Linked DNA regions of Homo sapiens: all the other regions are linked to region 2. The links are contacts of gene promoters, found by promoter capture Hi-C in blood cells and fetal thymus (Javierre and others, 2016). All regions are on one chromosome and are shown on one strand. The core of a region is centred on a gene start or on the middle of the fragment in contact, and the rest is flanking DNA. Distances in the headings are between cores, read along the strand shown. Region 1 has its middle 4.6 kb from the start of SLC28A2-AS1. Region 2 holds the start of GATM (glycine amidinotransferase). Region 3 has its middle 26 kb from the start of SLC28A2-AS1.

What was found. The method cuts DNA at HindIII sites, captures the fragments that hold promoters and counts their contacts. A CHiCAGO score of 5 or more calls a contact.
Region 1: a contact is called between a fragment that was not itself captured here and the fragment with the promoter of GATM in region 2, in 1 of 17 cell types (naive B cells). The highest score is 5.2, in naive B cells.
Region 3: a contact is called between a fragment that was not itself captured here and the fragment with the promoter of GATM in region 2, in 3 of 17 cell types (M1 macrophages, M2 macrophages and M0 macrophages). The highest score is 6.6, in M1 macrophages.

What each region holds. Positions count from the first base shown.
Region 1 is chr15:45,281,952-45,285,694 of GRCh38, reverse strand. No RefSeq gene overlaps it. Among named protein-coding and RNA genes, the nearest start is that of SLC28A2-AS1, 4.6 kb to the right of the region's middle. The HindIII fragment of the contact is 3,162 bases long and covers 22-3,183 here.
Region 2 is chr15:45,375,952-45,379,846 of GRCh38, reverse strand. GATM (glycine amidinotransferase) reads left to right here and starts at 1,303. Exons shown (of 9, transcript NM_001482.3): 1 at 1,303-1,462; 2 at 3,028-3,246. The coding sequence starts at 1,394. RefSeq lists an enhancer at 955-1,034 and a silencer at 1,175-1,504. The HindIII fragment of the contact is 1,395 bases long and covers 405-1,799 here.
Region 3 is chr15:45,303,220-45,306,857 of GRCh38, reverse strand. No RefSeq gene overlaps it. Among named protein-coding and RNA genes, the nearest start is that of SLC28A2-AS1, 26 kb to the right of the region's middle. The HindIII fragment of the contact is 1,249 bases long and covers 1,521-2,769 here.

The DNA of each region.
Region 1 (3,743 bases), core at 353-2,852, 94 kb after region 2:
TATTTCTGGTGTGTCCAAGCTTCAAGGAAACAGCACAACAAACTATTTATAGTGACCTCAAGTGCTCTTGCCAAAACACTGGATAACCACTCATGAATGTATGCCCTCAGGTAATGAATTCTCTCTTATAAAACCTTATTTTATGCACTCACTCTCTCTCTCTCCCCAGTCTTACATTTTCAAGATCTACTCCCACCTACATTACCCTGATTCTGTTGACAAAGAGTCAAACTCTGTAAAATATTTTAAGAGGTTTATTCTGAGCCAAATATGAGTGATCATGGCCTGTGACACAGCCCTCAGGAGGTCCTAAGAACACGTACCCAAGGTGGTTGGGGTACAGCTTGGTTTTATATATTTTTAGGGGGGCATGATACATCAATCAAATACATTTAAGAAATATATTGGGCTGGGCATGGTGGCTCATGCCTGTAATCCCAACACTATGGGAGGCTGAGGCGGGCAGAACACCTGAGGTCAGGAGTTTGAGACCAGCCTGACCAACATGGCAAAACCCCAGCTCTACTAAATATACAAAAATTAGCCAGGCTTGGTGGCGTGCACCTGTAATCCCAGCTACTTGGGAGGCTGAGGCAGGAGAATCGCTTGAACCCAGGAGGCTGAGGCTGCAGTGAGCTGTGATCACGCCACTGCACTCCAGCCTGGGTGACAGAGCAAAACTCCATCTCAAAAAAAAAAAAAAAAGAAAGAAAGAAAATAAAATAAAATACATTGGTTTGGTTCAGAATGGTGGGACAACTCAAACCGGGGGCTTCAGGGTATAGGTAGATTTAAACATTTTCTGGTTGACAATTGGTTGAGTTTATCTGAAGACCTGGGATTAATGGAAAGGAATGTTCAGGTTAAGAAAGAGGATTATGGAGAGACCAAGTTTTATTGTGCAGATAGCAGACTTCAGAGAGAGAGCAGGTTATAAAATGTTTCTTATCAGACCTAAAAGGGTGTCTGGCTCTTAGTTGATTATCTCCTGGATCTGGAAAGAAAGGAAAGAAAACAAAGGGGGAAGGGGATTCTCTACAGGATATGTATTTTTCCCACAAGAGACTTTGTAGGGCAATTTCAAGGTATAGCAAGGAAATATATTTTGGGGTTAAATATTTCTTCCTTGTCTCAATGTTATGCCAGAGTGATTGAAAAGTAAGTCACGATATATAGGGTCAAACAAAACCCATCTGATGAGAATTTATGGTTTGTAGGACATGACTCCCTAGACCCCTTAGGTAGGAATTTGGGCAGATAAAAAAATTAGAGTTTAGTCCTCAGTTCTTACATATTCTCCAGGTCCTACAGTTCCTTTGGAATGGAGGCTAACTCCTTCTGGAGCAGGACCTGTACTTCCCTGCTCAGGCTGTGCTGAGCTCTGGCACAGATTACCAGACTGGAGGCAAAAAAGGCAGAGAATGGAGGCTTATCTTGGGAAGAACGAAAGTTATTCTGCAATGACCTATTTTGGATGGGCAAGGGGAGGCTGTTTTCCTTAGTCAAGAGAAAAGGGTTTTGCTGACAGCATTATAAATAAATAAATAAGAAAGAAAAGGGACTGCTTCTGCTGGCCAGGAAGATTTAGGGACAATTAGGAGCTCCAGATTTTGAGGCTCATCCACTCACATATTTTATTTATTTATTTATTTATTTTTGAGATAGCGTCTTGCTCTGTCACCCAGGCTGGAATGCAGTGGCATGATCATGGCTCACTGCAGCCCCAACCTCCCGGCTTCAAGCGATCCTCCTGCCTCAGCCTCCCAAGCAGCTGGGACCACACCTGGCTATTTTTTTTTTTAATTTTTTTGTACAGACGGGGTCCACTATGTTGCCCAGGCTGGCCCTGAACTTGTAGGCTCAAGCAATCCTCCTGCCTCTGCCTCCCAAAGTGCTGAGATTACAGGCGTGAGCCACGGTGCCCGGCCAGGGAATCTTGTTAACATGCATATTCTGATTCAGTGGGTCTGGGGCGAGGCCTGAGACTCTGCATGTCTAGCAGGTGATGCTGATGCCTTGGGTTCACTGGTCACTCTGCCACTCACATATTTCTTATTCAGGTCTTAACGCCTCACATTTTTCTTTTCTGGAAAATACCTCCACATGGGAAAGCTGTTGAAGCTATGCATTCAATACCTTTAGCAGCTTTGCCATTCTGGATCCTGAACCTAATTTCTTTTCTTTTCTTTTTATTTATTGTTTTTTTTTTTGAGTCAGAGTTTCCCTCCTGTAGCCCAGGCTGGGGTGCAATGGCACAATCTTGGCTCACTGCAATCTCTGTCTCCCGGTTCAGGTGATTCTCCTGCCTCAGCCTCCCCAACAGCTGGGATTACAGGTGTGCACCATCATGTTCAGCTAGTTTTGTATTTTTAGTAGAGACAGGGTTTTGCCATGTTGGCCAGGTTGCTCTTAAACTCCTGACCTCAGGTGATCCACCCACCTCGACCTCCCAAAGTGCTGGGATTACAGGTGTGAGCCACTGCACCCAGCCCTGAACCTAATTTTTTTAAATTTTTTAAAATTATACTTTAAGTTCTAGGGTACATGTGCACAATGTGCAGGTTTGTTACATATGCTTACATGTGCCATGTTGGTGTGCTGAACCCATTAACTCATCATTTACATTAGGTATATCTCCTAATGCTATCCCTCCCCCCTCCCCCAACCCCACTACAGGCCCCGGTGTGTGATGTTCCCCACCCTGTGTCCAAGTGTTCTCATTGTTTTCAACAGTGTCTAACCTACTGCTGCAAGAGATGAGTCTCCTTTATGGCTGCCACAGAACTCCTCTGGCTTTCATATTGTTACTTAGTTGGCAATATGCTGCTTTAAACTATCATTTTCTTTTTCCAAGACTTCCAATGCTCTCAAGAGCAGCCAGTCTATTCTCCACTCTGTGCCGTTATTATTGCTCCCATACTGATCAAATACAGCAGCCACATAATATCCTAATTCCTTATCTTCTATCTGCACCTCATCCCAGTCAACTGGAGGTGAAAGCCTTAGTAATTGTCATGCATGCCCCTGCATGGCAGGGTTATACTATCCTGTTTACCACTGGGGAAACAGTTCTGATTGCCTTTAGATAGGTGGGCTAGTCTCTAAAATCACACTTTTAAAGGTCTGCTTTTAAAGACTACTCCTGGTACTAGCATTTTTGAGCCTACAGTCTCAAGAAAAGCTTAGAGCAAAAATATGCACATTTTTGTGATGGATGCTTTATTGATTGGTGAAATTGCAGGGAAGAAAGTATGACGAGAAAAAAGAAGTGAGGTAGGGGAGATGTAAAAACAAAGAGATGTGCTACCAAGATGGCCATAGCTTCACTGCGAACAGAGATGTTTGCCTGGCCTTCCAGGGCATCTCCACGGAGTACATATGAAGCCACTGCCTCTCACGGGAGGAAGGGTGAACAATGCTGGCTTCTTTTTGTCTCCTGTCTCTCAGTGGTCAAGGTTTACCCTACCCTAGACATGAACTCTCTCACACTTCTGGGTGGTAGTACCCACTCCTCCAGCCAGCTTCTCAGGAAGAAAGAGCCTCTGCAGCCCATTTTGGCCAATGTGCTTCAGTCTTTCCTCCTGAGTCAGTACTCAGTGTATGGGGGTGTATGGGGGCATGTTAGCACCAGGGGCTGTGGCTGTGGCTTTATGACTGTGAGATACCTCATAGAGTTTTTGTGAGAATTTGGTCAAGTAATATCCAACGCCTGGCAGTTAGTAGGCACTCAGTAAATGTTAGCT
Region 2 (3,895 bases), core at 54-2,553:
CCCGACCTAGTTTTTGTATTTTTAGTAGACAGGGTTTCATCATGTTGACCAGGATAGTCTCAAACTCCTGACCTCAGGCAATCCGCCTGCCTCGGCCTTCCCAATTGCTGGGATTACAGGCGTGAGCCACTGCACCCGGCCTCATACAGCTCTAATGCCACGCATCAAGTTCTGCATGTACAATCTCTCATTTTGGCCTCTCAGCAACCCCCCATGTGCTAGGGACAGTAAATTCTATTGTTCTCACTTTGCAGATAAGAAGACTGCAATTCAGGAAGACATATAGTAGTCTATAAGTGATTCAGGACTGGAACTCAGTTATCCTAATTCCCTCTCGGAGGCTCTTTCCACCATGCCATCTGCTCGTCTGGTGCTTTCCATCCATGAACTCTGGAAAACAAGCTTGAGATACCAAAATTGAAAAGACAGCTCATCAAAAATGAATAGTTATAATTCTATAAGTACAAAAATGAAATACTCAAATCTCTTGCCCCCCCTCCTGCTAGGAGCATAAATGTTAACCTGAGTTCTCTAGCTCTGTACAAATCCACAGCAATTAAGACTGCACTGTGAGGGAAAATACTTTTCTAAAAAAGAATCCTGATCAAGTTGAAACAAAAATTTTAAAACATGAAATGGAAGGAACGAAACTGTCGTCCTCCCTTATTTCTGACCCACACTTGTCGATTTTCATGACGGAGTTTCTCAAGCCAGGGGCATATGGCCAAAGACCATGTGAAATGCCAGGTGTTCCAAATAACAACCGACGGGGTACTGGAAGGAAAGCACTGCCTCCCCGGGGAACAAATGGCCCAATTTCCAGACTTAGTTTTCTGCAGTCTCAAACCCGATGTTGCACCAAGAAACCACCTAATCTTTAGGTGGTTTCGTTTACCGAAAAATGAGGTGACTGGTTCAGTGCGCATATGTGAATTTAAGGGTAACACTGTACTCACGCTTTGCATATTTAAATTCTCAAATATTCACTTAATATATGCATAGACCATTGTCACTTCGTCAGAAGTCGCGTCCTGCCCAGTTGCGCGAGACTCCAACGGGCCTTCTTGCGACGCTCGGGTCTGGGTCCGGGTCCGGACGTGCAACAGAAGCCGTCAGTGGCCCCGCTGGCTAAAAAAGGGCAAGCATCGGAGGCTCGAGCCAGCGGCCGCGGCGCTTCCCGACAGTTCCTAATTCGGGGCGCTACGCCGGCCCCACCACCTGTTCCCGGCAGCCAATGGGGCCGCGGGGGGCGGCCGGGGCGGAGCGCGGCTACAAAAGGCCTCGGGCCCCGCGCGCCCGCCCACCCCGCTCCGGGCGCGCTCTCGGGAAGGCTTGGACCGACGCGGCCCAGAGGCCAGGAACATTCCGCGCGTGGACCAGCCGGGCCAGGGCGATGCTGCGGGTGCGGTGTCTGCGCGGCGGGAGCCGCGGCGCCGAGGCGGTGCACTACATCGGATCTCGGGTGCGTGCGCCACCGGCCTCGTCTGGCGGCCGCGTGACTCACTCGATCCTGCGGGCGGCGTGGAGCACTCGCTCGCTCCCTGCCCGGAGCCGCCACCTTCCCTCGCTTTCCCTAGCCGGAATTGCACGAGAGTGTCCCTTCTGGTATCCCTGGGAAGCTCAGCTTCAAGAGCCTTCGCAGGCTCCAGGAGCTGGGCGGCGTCCCCCAGTCAGGGGGAACTTGCGTTGCGGCTCCAGCCCTTGGGGTCCACTTGCTGTCTGCGCGTCCGCGGCCTGCTGGCCCACGGCGCAGGGGGCGCCGCCCCCCTCTACCGGACCTTGGTGCGCTGCACCAAGCTTCCCGCTCGGAGCAAGGGGTTGGGACGACGGAGGCTCCTCTTAGTAAAAGGGTGGCGTTATTGGGGTTCAGTAGCCTGAGTGGGCGTCGAGTTGGGGAGATTTCTGGAAAATGCGTGTGGGGTAGATGGATGGGGAGAAGAGGCAAGCAAAGTGGGAATCGGGGACGGGGAGCGAGCGACCAGATTCACTCCAAGTATAACATGGGATCCCACGTCTGGAGAGGAGTCGGGGCGAGTGCAGCCTGTAAGCAGAGTTTCTGCGCTCCCCGCCCTCGGCTGCCCTGGCAGCAGACCCTCCCATGCTTCTAGTACTGGAATCGCTCCGACATTCTGGCTTCCTCCCAGCAACTGGTTCCTGAACAGCTGTCATTCTCCGTCTTTCTTCTGCCTCCACCCGAGTTCTCCTCCTGCCCACTTCCTAAGGCTTTTAACAGAGCAGGATAGAGATTTGGGGGGTTGAGGTTTGCTCAGGGGTTGAGGGACCCTCCCTGCTCTAGATTTTATAGGCCATGCATTTTTAAAAGGCTTTTGAAGTTTTTAGATCTCCTTCTTATTTGTTTGAATTTACGCCTGAGCTAATCCTGACCTTGGCTAGGGTACTGTGGACCATCTGTAAAATGGAGCAGATGGCAGTTGCTCACTCTCAGAATTGAAGTGCCAAAGAATGCGAAGTGTATGTCAAAGATGAAAAAAATTTGATTTGAAGCTGGTTATTCTGAAAGATAAGGTCCTTTACAAATGTTCCCAACTTTTCATTTGTAAAAAAAAATAAATAAAAAGCCTAATATTGGTAACCTTTGATACTTAAGGGAAAAGGAGGTTCCGTCCCCAGCTGAGACTGGCGGGAAGTTTTAGAGCAGCTGTCTATGGTTTTCTGAGAGGAGGACTGACCCATCTGCAAAACAGTTGCTTAAAGCTTGAGTGCAGGAATTGCATTCTGAGATAAAGATGGGGGTGTATGGTAGCTGGGGACACGGTCTTCTGAGGAGTTTTAAAGAGTTACAGCAATTAATAGATAAGAAGACAATTTGTAGATAAACAAGAGGGTTAAAAAAATTATCTGTAATCCCACTACCCACCTACACACTGTTAACGTCTTGGTTTATGCTGTTCTAAAGGGGTTTAAGTGGCAATGTTATGCTGGATTTTTACTCCATCTCCACTTCCTCCTCTCTGTAAGTACTGATAGAGCAATGCAATACAATAATCTTTTCTTTGTTCTTGGAAGCTTGGACGAACCTTGACAGGATGGGTGCAGCGAACTTTCCAGAGCACCCAGGCAGCTACGGCTTCCTCCCGGAACTCCTGTGCAGCTGACGACAAAGCCACTGAGCCTCTGCCCAAGGACTGCCCTGTCTCTTCTTACAACGAATGGGACCCCTTAGAGGAAGTGATAGTGGGCAGAGCAGAAAACGCCTGTGTTCCACCGTTCACCATCGAGGTGAAGGTAAAGGAAGGCTATTCACATGTCTGAAAGTGCGCTCCCTCCTCACCTGCTGCTGCTACCCTCTGACTGCTTTCCCTTCAGCTTACTCCCAGACCTCTCAATCCAGTGATTAAGTTATCTTACTTGACACCTCTGTGGTATTTGACACTATTTACACCAATGATAATTGCTTCCTTCCTGAAGAGCTTCCTGAAGCTCTTCCCTTGGATTCTGAGAGAGCTTTTCTGGGAATAATAGTTCTTTCACTGTCCTCAGATCTTCTTCCGTCACAGCCTGTAATGGCAAGGTTGAACAGAATATTACTTTCAGCCCCCTTCTCTTAGCCATTCTCACAGCTACCGCTCCCACCTCCTCTCTGGTCCGGATCTCTGTATTGAACTCCTTCCAGATCAACGAGTTAAACTCCTTACGGGATATTGCCACAGGACTTCAAACTTGGCACATCTGGAGTTCAGTTGCCAGCCACCTGCTCAAGTGGATCCCTCCTCATTCCTGCCTTTTAATTATTGGCATTCCTATTTAATCAAGCTAAAACACAAAAGAATCATCTTTGATTTCTCCTTATGTCACGTGATGTAACAAGGCTTTTGTCAAAAATGAATCTTGCCTCATTCCTCTGCTTTGCCTCTCCCTAAAGGTTGGGAGCTCA
Region 3 (3,638 bases), core at 896-3,395, 74 kb after region 2:
AAAGTTGACATATTTATGAAGTTTTGAAGTCTGGTTTAAGGCAGGTCTTTCAATGCTAGGGCTTGATCAGAATTGGATAAGGATAATAGTTTAGAGTTGGTGGACACAGCAAGATTTTGAGGTGACGGATTCAAAGAGTGTTGGTGCCAGTCTTGGTGGCTCATGCCTGTAATCCCAGCACTTTGAGAGGCTGCTGAGGGAGGATCACTTGAGCCCAGGAGTTTGAGACCAGCCTGGGTTACATAGTGAGACCCCTGTCTCTACCAAAAAATAAAAAAATTAGCTGAGTGTGGTGATGCATGCCTGTAGTCCCAGCTACTCAGGAGACTAAGGAGGGAGGATCACTTGAGTCAAGGAGCTGGAGGCTGCAGTGAACTATGATCATGCCACTGCACTCCAGCTTGGGCAATAGAGCGTGACCCTGTCTCAAAAAAAAAAAAAAAAAAAAAAAAAAGAGAGCGAGAGAAAGAAAAAGAAAAAAACAATTCTTGGGGAGTAAACTGTCACTTGATGATATCTATTGGTAAATCGGACAGTTTGATGTTTATTTTAACAGTTTCTGGGGGAAATAAATCCCAGAATAAACAAAGTTATTTGCTTCTTTTATTGCCTCATGAAAGAGGTCCCTTTTATAATAAAGTTTTATTTGTGAAGAGACTGAAAGAGTAATGTCTTGTAAATTTAAACAGTAAACTATGTGGTTTCAGTCCTCAGAAACCACTTTATTTTCCTCGTCTTATTTTCCTTCCCTTCTGTTGAATTTTTTTTTTCTACTATAGCATTTTCCACTTACAGGAGTCTCTTTTCTTCTCAATTCTCCTTTTTAAAGCCTCCTTTCTTTGGGGAAAGGGGAGATATGATATCTTTTCCTAGCAACAGGAACAGACAGTAGGTATTTTTTAAACACATTTTCCTGCCAACTCCATTGCTTTGATTTCCTCTGAGTTCCATTTTGTTCATTCTGTCCTTCATGCTGGAGAAATTCCTTTATTGTCTGAAGGTGATCCTTTATAGGACAGTGACTAATCATAGGCATAAAGTATCAGTTAAACAAGATGAATAAGCTCTAGAGATCTGCAGCATGACAATGTGCCTATAGACAACAAAAACATATTGCACACCTAACAATGTGTTAATAGGGTAGATTTCATGTTCAGTGTTCTTACCACGATAAATTAAACTAAAAGAAAGAACAGTGAGACCAATACCAGAGGTGAGGCAGAGTAGGAGGTTGGGCTGATCAGTGTAGAATGATCTTATTAAGCTTGGAAGGTTTTCCCTGCTCTTGGGGTGGAACATTTTCCCAAAGAGGAATTTTCCAGTTTCCTGTGGGTTGAAGAGGGTAAGCTGGTTGCAGAATTCTCAGAACCGAGTTGGAGAAGGGAGCTAGGTTGTCACTGTCTAATATTGGCTTTCGTTTAAGTCCCATTTTCTGTAAAGTATCCCTACCCTCAACTATGGCTTTTTTTTCAGTCATTTTTCCCCTTTCAGAGATACCTACCACCTCTAATACCCAAGCTTTTCTGGAGTTCTGGGAATTGGCTTGCTCTGAGTTTTTTTCATTAATAGTTTAATGGGTTATCACTCTGCTAGGTCAGTTTCCACCTTTCCATCGGCTTTACAACTCTTGAAGTGTAGTCACTGTCATCTTCTTACCCAGTTTTTTTGTCCTTGTTGGTTTATGCATTTTGAATATATTGACATTTTAGAAGGCTTTGGCTAGGCATCAGCGACAAGTGAATGTGCTCATTCGACCACATTTAACCAGGAGTCTGCATTATATTCCTAAGATCCCCTCCAACTTCTAATTCTGTGATTTTAAATACATTTTAATTAAGGCAAGAGTGAGTACATAATTAGATACAAAGCTGGAGAGATTACGATTTCACGCAAATGAGATGGAAAAAGAGAGGTAATTAGCTTTAGCTTTTCAATAATCAGTCTAGGGGAAACTTCATGGAAGAGGTATTTTAATAACTGAACCTGAACCCTTTCTCTCTTTCTCCCTTAAGAGCAGCATGGATGAACCAAAGACAAGTTGAGGTAGCCTGCAGCAATTTTGATCTTGATCCAGACTGCAAAAACAAATTACCATCAAGATTTAGGAAGGAAGAAGAGACAATATTTAAAAAAACCTGAAAATTCCACAGGGAGAAACTGCATGTGCCTGACTAAGGCAATGCTAATAGGAATAGAAAGAAAGCATGGATAGATATTTACATGACATGATTTTGCATTTTTTAAAGTAATGAATCAAGGGCTGGGCGTGGTAGCTCACACCTGTAATCCCAGAACTTTGGGAGGCCGAGGCAGAGGATCACTTGAGGCCCAGAGTTCAAGACCAGCCTGGGTGACATACAGAGACTCCATCTCTACAAAAAACTTAAAAATTCGCTGGACATGGTGGTGCACGCCTGTAGTCCTAGCTACTTGGGAGGTTGAGGGGGAAGGCTTGCTTGAGCCCAGGAGTTTGAGTCTGCTATGAGCTATGACTGTGCTGCTGCCCTCTCGCCTAGGCAACAGAGCAAGACCCTGACTCTAAAATTTAAAAATACATAAAAATAAATAATGAATAAAAATTGGTAAATTAATAAGTTTACTGAATACCTATATTATAAGTAAAGAGGACACTGTACTAGATGTAATAAGAAAGAGAAAAAAGAATTGTGCTCAGAAGTTGGTGATATTCTTAAATAATAAATATTTTTGATATTGTTGGGTAATTTATGACTTGAGAACGATTACAAAGTGACAAGTTAATGAAAAGCTTAGAAGATTTCAGTACAAATTAATAGTGGACATGCAAGAATGATTCAAAAAGGAACTTAAGAAAACAGTCTCATTTATAATAGCATCCAAAAGAATAAAATATCTAGGAATAAATTTAACTAAGGAGGTGAAAGCCTTGTGCATTGAAAACTACAATACATTGCTGGAAGAAAGTTAAGAAGACATCAATAAATGAAAAGATATCTCATATTCATCTATTGGAAATTGGAATATTTAATATTGTTAAGACAGCAATGCTACCCAAAGTGATCTACATATTCAATGCAATTCCTATAAAAATTCCAATGCCTTTTTTTTTCTTGCAGAAATGGAAAAGTAGATCCTCTCAAATTCATAGGGAATTGCAAGGGGCCCTGATTATCTAAAATAATATCAAAAAAATAACAAAGTTGGAAGACTCATAGTTTCCAATTTCAAAACTTACTACATAGCTACAGTGATCAAAACAGTGTGAGGTATTGGCATAAGGACAGAGATAAACATCAATGGAATAGAATTGAGAGACCAGAAGTAAACCCATACATCTATGGACAATTGATTTTCAACAAGGGTGACAAGACCATTTGATGGGGAAGAAGTAATCTTTTCAACAAATGGTTCTGGGAAAACTGGATATCCACATCCAAAAGAATGACACTTTTTGGACCCCTACCTCACACCATATACAAAAAGTAACTCAAAATGGATCAAAAGTAACTCAAAATGGATCAAAAAAAAAAAAAAAAAAGACTGGATGTGGTGGCTCACATCTGTAAATCCCAGCACTTTGGGAGGCTGAGGCAGGTGGATCACCTGAGGTCAGGAGTTCAAGACCAGCCTGGCCAACATGGTGAAACCCTGTCTCTACT